Linked DNA regions of Homo sapiens: region 1 is linked to region 2. The links are contacts of gene promoters, found by promoter capture Hi-C in blood cells and fetal thymus (Javierre and others, 2016). All regions are on one chromosome and are shown on one strand. Each heading gives the region's core, a stretch centred on a gene start or on the middle of the fragment in contact. The rest is flanking DNA. Distances are from core to core; before and after follow the strand shown.

What was found. The method cuts DNA at HindIII sites, captures the fragments that hold promoters and counts their contacts. A CHiCAGO score of 5 or more calls a contact.
Region 1: a fragment that was not itself captured here is called in contact with the fragment with the promoter of PIWIL3 in region 2 in 4 of 17 cell types (M0 macrophages, erythroblasts, M1 macrophages and 1 more); the score reaches 6.8 in M0 macrophages.

Annotation. Positions count from the first base shown.
Region 1 is chr22:25,022,832-25,027,092 of GRCh38, reverse strand. KIAA1671 reads right to left here. Exons shown (of 13, transcript NM_001145206.2): 2 at 1,309-1,460. Among named protein-coding and RNA genes, the nearest start is that of KIAA1671, 72 kb to the right of the region's middle. RefSeq lists an enhancer at 1-1,145. The HindIII fragment of the contact is 247 bases long and covers 1,284-1,530 here.
Region 2 is chr22:24,773,031-24,777,660 of GRCh38, reverse strand. It overlaps PIWIL3 (piwi like RNA-mediated gene silencing 3), which reads left to right and starts at 2,941. Exons shown (of 21, transcript NM_001255975.1): 1 at 2,941-3,339. The HindIII fragment of the contact is 5,025 bases long and covers 1-3,314 here.

The DNA of each region.
Region 1 (4,261 bases), core at 158-2,657, 250 kb before region 2:
AACAGTGAGGTCTTCCCATGAGTGAGATCTCGAGCTATGCCACATGCTTCTTGTGTTTTATACATCTCATCCTCCTCACAACCCTATTTAGTGGGTACAATTAGGAGACCCCATTTTGTAGTAGCTTGGGGCATAAGCCTCTTGTTCACCCTGCTATGAGATCTGTTTTCGCAAAGCAGGGGACCTCCTCTCTCATTAACCCTCCAGCAACTCCAAAAGTCAAGAATGAAGGAATGATCGTTATCTCCCTCATGGAGATGAAGGGAAAGGGCCCAGAGAGGTCGCCAGACTTGCCTACGATCACCCAGCTGAAACCTAACCTCAAGTCCACCACCCACTTAGCTCTGTCTTTTTTTTTTTTTGAGACCAAGTTTCACTCTTGCTGCCCAGGCTGGAGTGCAATGGCGCGACCTTGGCTCACAGCAACTTCTGCCTCCCAGGTTCAAGCCATTCTCCTGCCTCAGCTTCCGGAGTAGCTGGGATTACAGGCATGTGCCACCACGCCCAGGTAATTTTGTGGTTTTAGTAGAGGTGGGGTTTCTCCATGTTGGCCAGGCTGGTCTCGAACTCCTGACCTCAGGGGATCCGCCCACCTCAGCCTCCCAAAGTGCTGAGATTACAGGCTTGAGCCACCACACCCAGCCTCAGCTCTGTCTTTTTAAAAATTATTTTTTATTCCTTTCTGGTCTTAAAAAGTGCCAGGTAAGTTGCTGTTCTCGATCCCCCAGGCTCTCTTCATGCCAGTGTTTTCTTCCCTGTGAAACTGCCCCCAGCCAGCCCCCACCTAGATGGACTAAAAAAGTAGAAGGTATTTTAGTTAAACACAAGCCTCTCCACTTCCCTTCCTTGGGGCCCCACACTGCTCCCCCGGCTCTGACTCACTCAGCAGCCTCCAGGAAAGAAAGGCAGACAGATTTTGATATTTTCTCTTCCTTACACGCTCGATGGTGCTAACAGATTCCATCTCCCCAAACTGGAGAACACTGTCTAGACACGGTTAGAGGTAGAATGGAGGGACAGATATGAAGAATCTGAGAATTGGAGAATTTCCATACACAAAGATCCCAACCAGAGTTCTAAGGCTCCAGAATCCCACCCAGAATCAGGGCCATTGGCCTTTTGGGAGAGCAGCTGTGACCTCTGGAAACCCTGATTGAGGATACATATGTAATAGCCAGGACATGAGACACAGAACAATGACAGGATTCAAAGGACAGAGAGAAAATTCTCTGGCAGAACTCACAGGCACTCTCCATGCCCTTGGACACTCCAGCCCTCAAGCTTGGGTCAAGCATGGGCCCCACTTACCCAAGCTGGCAGGCCCTGGGTCAGGGGGTGTGACTGCCGGGAAAAGCCAGTAGTGTCACATGTCATCATGAATGGGGCTGTCCACACACTTCCATGGCAGAAACAAGAAGGGGGAAAGAAGACTCGTCCCAGCAGGCTGAGTTTCAGCAGGTCTAAGGAGACACAGGATGACAGCCTCAGTTCCGGAGTTCTGGCAGTATGGGAACAGACGGCACAAAAGCTTTCAAGCTCCAAATGCATCCGCTGGCATCTACTCCAGCTTGTAAAACGTATGCTCCTTTTGGCTTTTCGATTTTGTAGCCTTATATGTACGTGTGCATAAATAGTGCTGAGCCCACAGTACGTGCTCAATAAAAATCTTCCCTGTTCTCTGATACATTTATTAAGCACCTACGGTGTGTACAAAGATGAGCATGAAACATCCCCTGCAACCATGCAACTCACAGTCTTCTGTAAGAAACACACATACACACACAAGCAATTACAACTGGGTAACAAATGTCACTTTTTAAATGCAGGATGTGGGGGCAAATAGGACTGATTGCCTAGAATTGGAACTGGTGGTCCTGCATAACTCACTTGACTTAGAGGAGGTAGCTACTGAGCATTCGAGGTGCTGACTCACTTGGTAGCTGCTACCAAGTGATGTGCTTCACTTGGTAGCTGCTACCAAGTGATGTGCTTCACTTGGTAGCTACATTAGCGGTATTTGGACATTGTACCTCTTTGAAGCCCTCCAAATGCCTCCTCAGGGCCTTTGCACATGCTATGCCTGTTCTCTGGGACAACCATCTTGCTCACACACAGACACAGACCACAGTTCACACATCTCTGTCTCCCTTCAACCCGGTACAACCCCCTCCTACCTGTTCACAGAGCACCACATACACTCGGAGGCTTGGCAGGACTTAGCATAGCTACACTGTTACATTTAATACGACATCATCCTTCACATCAGCCTCTCCCATTCAATGGTAAGCCCCGCCAGAGGACACCCCAAATCCCTAGTGGCTAGCACAGCAGCCTGGCACATAAAAGCACCAGATACATGATTACTGAATAGAGAAATAAATCATTGCTGAGTTAATAAGTAAATGAATGAAGAAATATTCTTCTGCCCCTGCTGCCCACTCTCTAAGATGCTAAATAAGTCCAGATACCATGAGTCTCATGCCAAATGACTCTAAGCAATCTGGGACATAAGATGAGTTACTCTAGCTGTGGCTGTGGCTACTGAATGACAGAATCAAAAAGCTGTGAAGTGCTCAGCCAGAGGCTCAATCCACCAATCCTCACCCAGGGACCCCTATCAGTTTCACAAGCCAGAGGCTCAATCTACCAACCCTCACCCAAAGACCTCTATCAGTTTCACTGGGCCACACAGAGGAGCTCCACCCCGAGGGCAGGCACCTGCTACATCCACATTAACCTCACACTGTCACACCAGCTCACCTGCCCAAATGTGGAATGAATGCTTCTCTGCATGGATTTTCCTGGGAAAAGAGTCACCAAGAGCAACTGTTTGCTGAATTAGGATCAATGGTACACAAATGTCACCCCACTTTGGGAACCTTGAACCCACCTCAGGGACTATACTGCATGGAAGTAAAAGGAGAAGGACAAGATAAATTAAGTCCCTTGGTCCACGCTCCTCTACACCAAACAGTGCCTCTGTGACCCGTCATCTGCTTTGTATCTTGAACTGCCTCTCAAGTTACCATTGCAAATGCCTAGCAGATGTCTGATATGTAAACACAGTTGCACAAATGAGTCAATGAATGAATTAATAAATCAATGAACAAAGAAAAGTAAAAGGAGTTTTTTGGGATTTTTTTTTTTTGAAACAGAGTTTCACTCTGTCACCCAGGCTGGAGTGCAATGGCGTGATCTCAGCTCACTGCAACCTCTGCCTCCCAGGTTCGAGCAATTCTCCCGCCTCAGCCTCCTGAGTAGCTGGGACTACAGGTGCATGCCACCACACCTGCCTGATTTTTATATTTTTGGTAGAGACGGGGTTTCACTATGTTGGCCAGGCTGGTCTTGAAATCCTGACTTTGTGATCCGCCCGCCTCGGCCTTCCAAAGTGCTGGGATTGAGCCACCGCACCCGGCCTAGTAAAAGGAGTTTTTAAACCACCATAGTAGATGGCTCCGTAATATTTTAAAGTCCTAGCCAAACCTAGAAACCTATGATTCTCAGGTTTTCATTTAACCTGCTGTAAAATACAGGGAAACCAATTTAACTGTATGCTTTGAAGTCTTCTTTTAAATGTTATCACATATGTTACACTTGATTTAAGAGATGTTAGCCTCTTTGAAAACCTTTCTGAAGCCCACTCACGGAGAGGCTAGATGCTGTTTATTCTTGGGGTGGACATGTCCACTATTTTTTATTTATTTTATTTTTTATTTTTATATTTTTAGACAGTCTCACTTTGTAGCCCAGGCTGGAGTCCAGTGGCACAATCTCGGCTCACTGCAAACTCCACCTTCCAGGTTCAAGTGATTCTCGTGCCTTAACCTCCGTGAAGCTGGGATTACAGGCACCTACCACCACATCTGGCTGTTTATTTATTTAGAGACAGAGTCTCGGTGTGTCACGCAGGCTAGAGTGCAATGGCACTATCTCAGCTCATTGCAACCTCCGCCTCCCAGGTTCAAGTGATTCTCCTGCCACAGCCTCCCAAGTAGCTGGGACTACAGGCACCCAGCACCACACCCAGCTAATTTTTTTTTGTATTTTTAGTAGAGACGGGGTTTCACCGTGTTAGCCAGGATGGTCTGGATCTCCTGACTTCGTAATCCGTCCGCCTCGGCCTCCCAAAGTGCTGGGATTACAGGCGTGAGCCACCGCGCCCGGCCTCGGCCTCTTTTTTAAACAGTGTATTAGCTGACCATTATGACCAAAGCCAAGTCAACAAGACCTCCCCAGAGAAAGAAGGGAAACCAAGTCT
Region 2 (4,630 bases), core at 1,692-4,191:
CTCTAAATTTTAAATCTAATTATAACTTTAACTAGAATTAAATTTTAACCAAACTTCTGATTAAAGCATAAATTGTCCCTTCATGTGGGTCTTTCAAGGCCGGATTTTTGATTATCTTTTCCCTTGAGAGTTGGTCAGATTTGTCTTATGTTCTACCGCATAATTTTGGAGAGTATCCTGGACAGTTTGCTTATTATATTGTGAGATTCTGGTTCTTACTAAAATCTGCCAGAGAAATGTTCATTTTGTTGTTGTTATTGTTGTCGTATTGAGCATTCAACATAGTTTAGGTTAAACCACATATTCTGTCTTGTTTTCTTTTCTTTTTTTTTTTTTTTTTTTTTTGAGACGGAGTCTCACACTGTCACCTGGGCTGGAGTGCAATGGCTCAATCTCAGCTCACTGCAACCTCCACCTCCTGGGTTCAAGCGATTCACTTGCCTCAGCCTCCCAAGTAGCTGGGATTACAGGCGCCCGCCACCACGCCTGGCTAATTTTTTGTATTTTTAGTAGAGACGGGGTTTCACTATGTTGGCCAGGCTGGTCTTGAACTCCTGACCTCGTGATCTGCCCACCTTGGCCTCCCAAAGTGCTGGGATTACAGGTGTGAGCCACCGTGCCCAGCCCTGTCCTGTTTTCTTTGACAGTTGTTCCAGTCTCAGTGCAGTTTTCAAGCCTTTGCTATGCTGGTGTATCCACTTGGGTAAATCTGGGAGTTGAGTGGTGGTTTATATTATAGTTCGTTTCTCAAAACCCTTGCTCTGCTTCTGTGCATGCATAGTTCAGGGTGATCCTAGGACTTATGTTAATTCATACATCCATTTAAGTGATCCCCTTTAGCTTTCTCCTCTGCAGGATTCTGCAGGGTTCCGTTTTCATGCTCCTATCAGTGTTGCAGCACCCGTGCTGCTGTGCAGTTACACGCGTCTAGGTCAGCCTTTCAAGTGAAGTACAGGAAGAAACAAAAAGAGATTTCCCCTATACTTTTCAGATGCAGAAGTCTCTTTCCTTTTCCTCTGCCCAGTGAGCCAAGTGATTTCTCAGGGCTTTAGGTCCCTCTGCCATTGCTGAGGCTGCAGGACAGCTTTGCAACTGGGGAGATAAAAACAAAACAAACCAAGGATGATCCCCTTACTCCTTGATGTGCAGGAGACCCCTTTCCCACTAGCCTAGCTAGAAATTTAGGTGGTTTATCACAGACTTTTTACTTTCAGTGCCTGCTGGACAGTTCTATGACTCCACATGCCCTTGGGTAAACCAGAAGAAAGAGGAGGAAAATTAACTTACTATAGTCACCCCATTGAAAGGGCCTTTGCAAAACTCATAACTGAGAAAATTATGACAGTGAAACAGATCAGACCTAACCGACCACACCTTGCTTCTAACGCCTAAGCTGTCTTTGTTCATTCCTGGGCATAGGCCAAACTAGTCTTGGGGAAGAATTGTTTATAGTTTAAATTCTGAAACAAAACTGATAATAGTCCTTTCCTGAAAAAAAGACGCTTCTTGCGTGGGGAACTGTCCTGCCTTTGTAGGACTAACAAATTAGCTACAAGATGAGAGATTACGGCTTAGGGGCCATGCAGCTTCTGGCCGCAAGAGTCTGAACCTCCCCAAGTTGCTTCTGGGAATAAAATCTCCGTTGCAAAACTTAAGATCAGTGCTTGAGATATTTTGCATACCCTGAATTCCGATGCAGCAGATGACACCACCCAGACTGATAATCTGGCTCAACCAGTCCTGCGATCTCATCCAGGAAGAGAAATCAGCAAGAACTCACTTCCACCCCCATGATTCCATCTCCAACCCGACCAATAAGCACTCCCTACTTCCTGAGCCCATACCCACCAAATCATTTTTAAAAACTCTGATCCCCGACTGGGCATGGTGGCTCACGCCTGTAATCCCAAGGTGGGTGGATCACTTGAGGTCAGAAGTTTGAGATCAGCCTGGCCAATATCATGAAACCCCGTCTCTACTGAAAATACAAAAATTAGCCTGGTGTGGTGGCATGCACCTGTAATCCCAGCTACTCAGGAGGCTGAGTCAGGAGAATCGCCTGAACCCGGGAGGCGAAGGCTGCAGTGAGCAGAGATCACATCACTGCACTCTAGCCTGGACGACAGAACGAGACTCCATCTCAATAAATACATAGAGATATAAATAAAATAAAATAAAATAAAGTTTCTTAAAAAAAATAGGAAATCTCCTGAAAAACCTTTTCAGAAAAATAGCCACAGGTGCATGTTTGGCTCGTGTTTTTCCCAGAAACAACCTAAATCTGGCTTGATAAACCTTGATTGATGTATTTGCCCCAGTCACTCATGTTGTAACCAGCAAAAGGGCCCAGCTGCTCACTGCTTGTAGAAAGAAGTCAAAATGATAATGACATGTGATTTAAAAAGAAAGAATTTTATAATCTATGCTAGCAAGGGCAAGAGCAGAGAGCAATTCCACTCTTCCACGTGAGGAAAGAACGCAGGGGTTTTTTTTGTTTGTTTTTTGCGACGGTGTCTTGCTCTGTCGCCCAATCTGGCTGGAGTGCAGTGGCGCAATCTCAGCTCACTGCAACCTCCGCCTTCTGAGTTCAAGCGATTCTCCTGCCTCAGCCTCCCGAGTTGCTGGGACTACAGGCACATGCCACCATGCCCAGCTGATTTTTTGTATTTTTAGTAGAGACGGGGTTTCCCCGCGTTAGTCAGGATGGTCTCCATCTCCTGACCTCGTGATCCTCCGGCCTTGACCTCCCAAAGTGCTGCGATTACAGACGTGAGCCACTGCGCTCGGATGAACGCAGGGGTTTTTATTTATTTTATTTTATTTTTTAAGATATTTATTTATTTGTTTATTTTTTGAGACAGAGTCTCACTCTTTCACCCGGGCTGGAGTGCAGTGGCGTGATCTCGGCTCACTGCAAGCTCCGCCTCCCGGGTTCACGCCATTTTGCTGCCTCAGCCTCCCGAGTAGCTGGGACTACAGGTGCCCGCCACCACGCCCGGCTAATTTTTTGTATTTTTAGTAGAGATAGGGTTTCACTGTGTTAGCCAGGATGGTCTCCATCTCCTGACCTCATGATCTACCCGCCTCAGCCTGCCAAAGTGCTGGGATTACAGGCGTGAGCCACCGCGCCCGGCCAAAGCGGTTTTTAAAGGGAGGATTTGGAAGGCAAAAGAGGCAGGGGGACTGGGAGGTGTCAGGTGGTGTGACCCCCTCCAGTGGCTTGTCCTGAATTATTTTTCCATCTGTGGAAGTGGCCGGCGTCATCATGGCTGGAGGAGGTGCATGGTTCGTATCAGGATCTGACTACTGAAGCTTCTAAGGAAATATGTGACCAGATAAGTGAGTATGGTGTGTGCTTACCAAACAACTAGGTAAATAAATGTGCATAAGGCATGGGGGCATAGAACAGGAAAAGAAAGGGGGTGGAGGTTCACAGCACATTCCAAGGCTGGATTTCAAGAGGAGAGGAAACACGTCTATACTTTGTCTAAGTTACATCTTCAGATTAGCAGAAGAGAGGAAAGGGGAAAGGAAAAAAAGTTTTAAAATGCGGTTTGAGGTTAGGCTGCTAAGCTGCTGGGTTACAGATTCAGCTTATATTTGAGCATGTGGAGTATGTATATTTATTTTAAAAATCTAGAGCATCTTGGTCAGCCACAGTGGCTCATGCCTGTAATCCCAGCACTTTGGGAGGCTGAGGCGGCTGGACCATGAGGTCAGGAGTTCAAGACCAGCCTGGCCAAGATGGTGAAACCCCGTCTCTACGAAAAATACCAAAATTAACTGGGCGCAGTGGCGGGTGCCTGTAGTCCCAGCTACTTGGGAGGCTGAGGCAGGAGGATTGCTTGAACCTGGGAGGCGGAGGTTGCAGTGAGCCAAGATCGCACCACTGTACTCCAGCCTGGGCAACAGAGTGAGTGAGACTCCCATCTCAAAAAAAAAAAAAAAAAAAAAAAATCTAGAGTGTCTTGTACATATCCTTTAATAACCTACTTTTAAAAACTTAATATATTTTAGATACATATGTATATGTGTACCTACTTACATCCTTAAAACTGACGTGATGATAAATAAAACCGCGGAATTTCTATCAATATGTAAATGCTCTTCTCAGAAAAGGCGGGCTCTTTGCTCCTGTGGTTGATGGGGATGATGCAGATGGTGGCAGAGGCTTCCATTTTTTGAGCATTCGTTGTGGGACCTGCCAGTGCTTCAAGCTCAATACACCTTCTCCCATTTAACCCTCACAGCTCAGGAGGGGGTCCTGCCGGGACCTCCACTGCAGACAGGAAAAGAGGAGAAAGTTGGTATCTTCTGAATTCTTTTGGCAAAAGGAGAAGGGAAGAGGGTTCCTGTGCAGGGCATGCAGGAAGGCAGGAGTATGGAAAAGGGGGAAGGGACAGTGTGTAATGCCCTCCCTGCTGAGCCACATGGTTGGAATGGAGCATCACAGCAGAGATGGCAGAGCCAGAAACCCTAGGATCCGGTGTCAGAGGGACACAGGGCCCAGCTGCCAATGTGTGGCCCAGAGCAGTGGAGGACACCTTGGTTATGCCCTGGCACACAGCTTTCTACTGTCCTGGCATCTAAGCCCTGGGGACTGGGGCAGTGGGGTCAGTGCCCTCAGCTG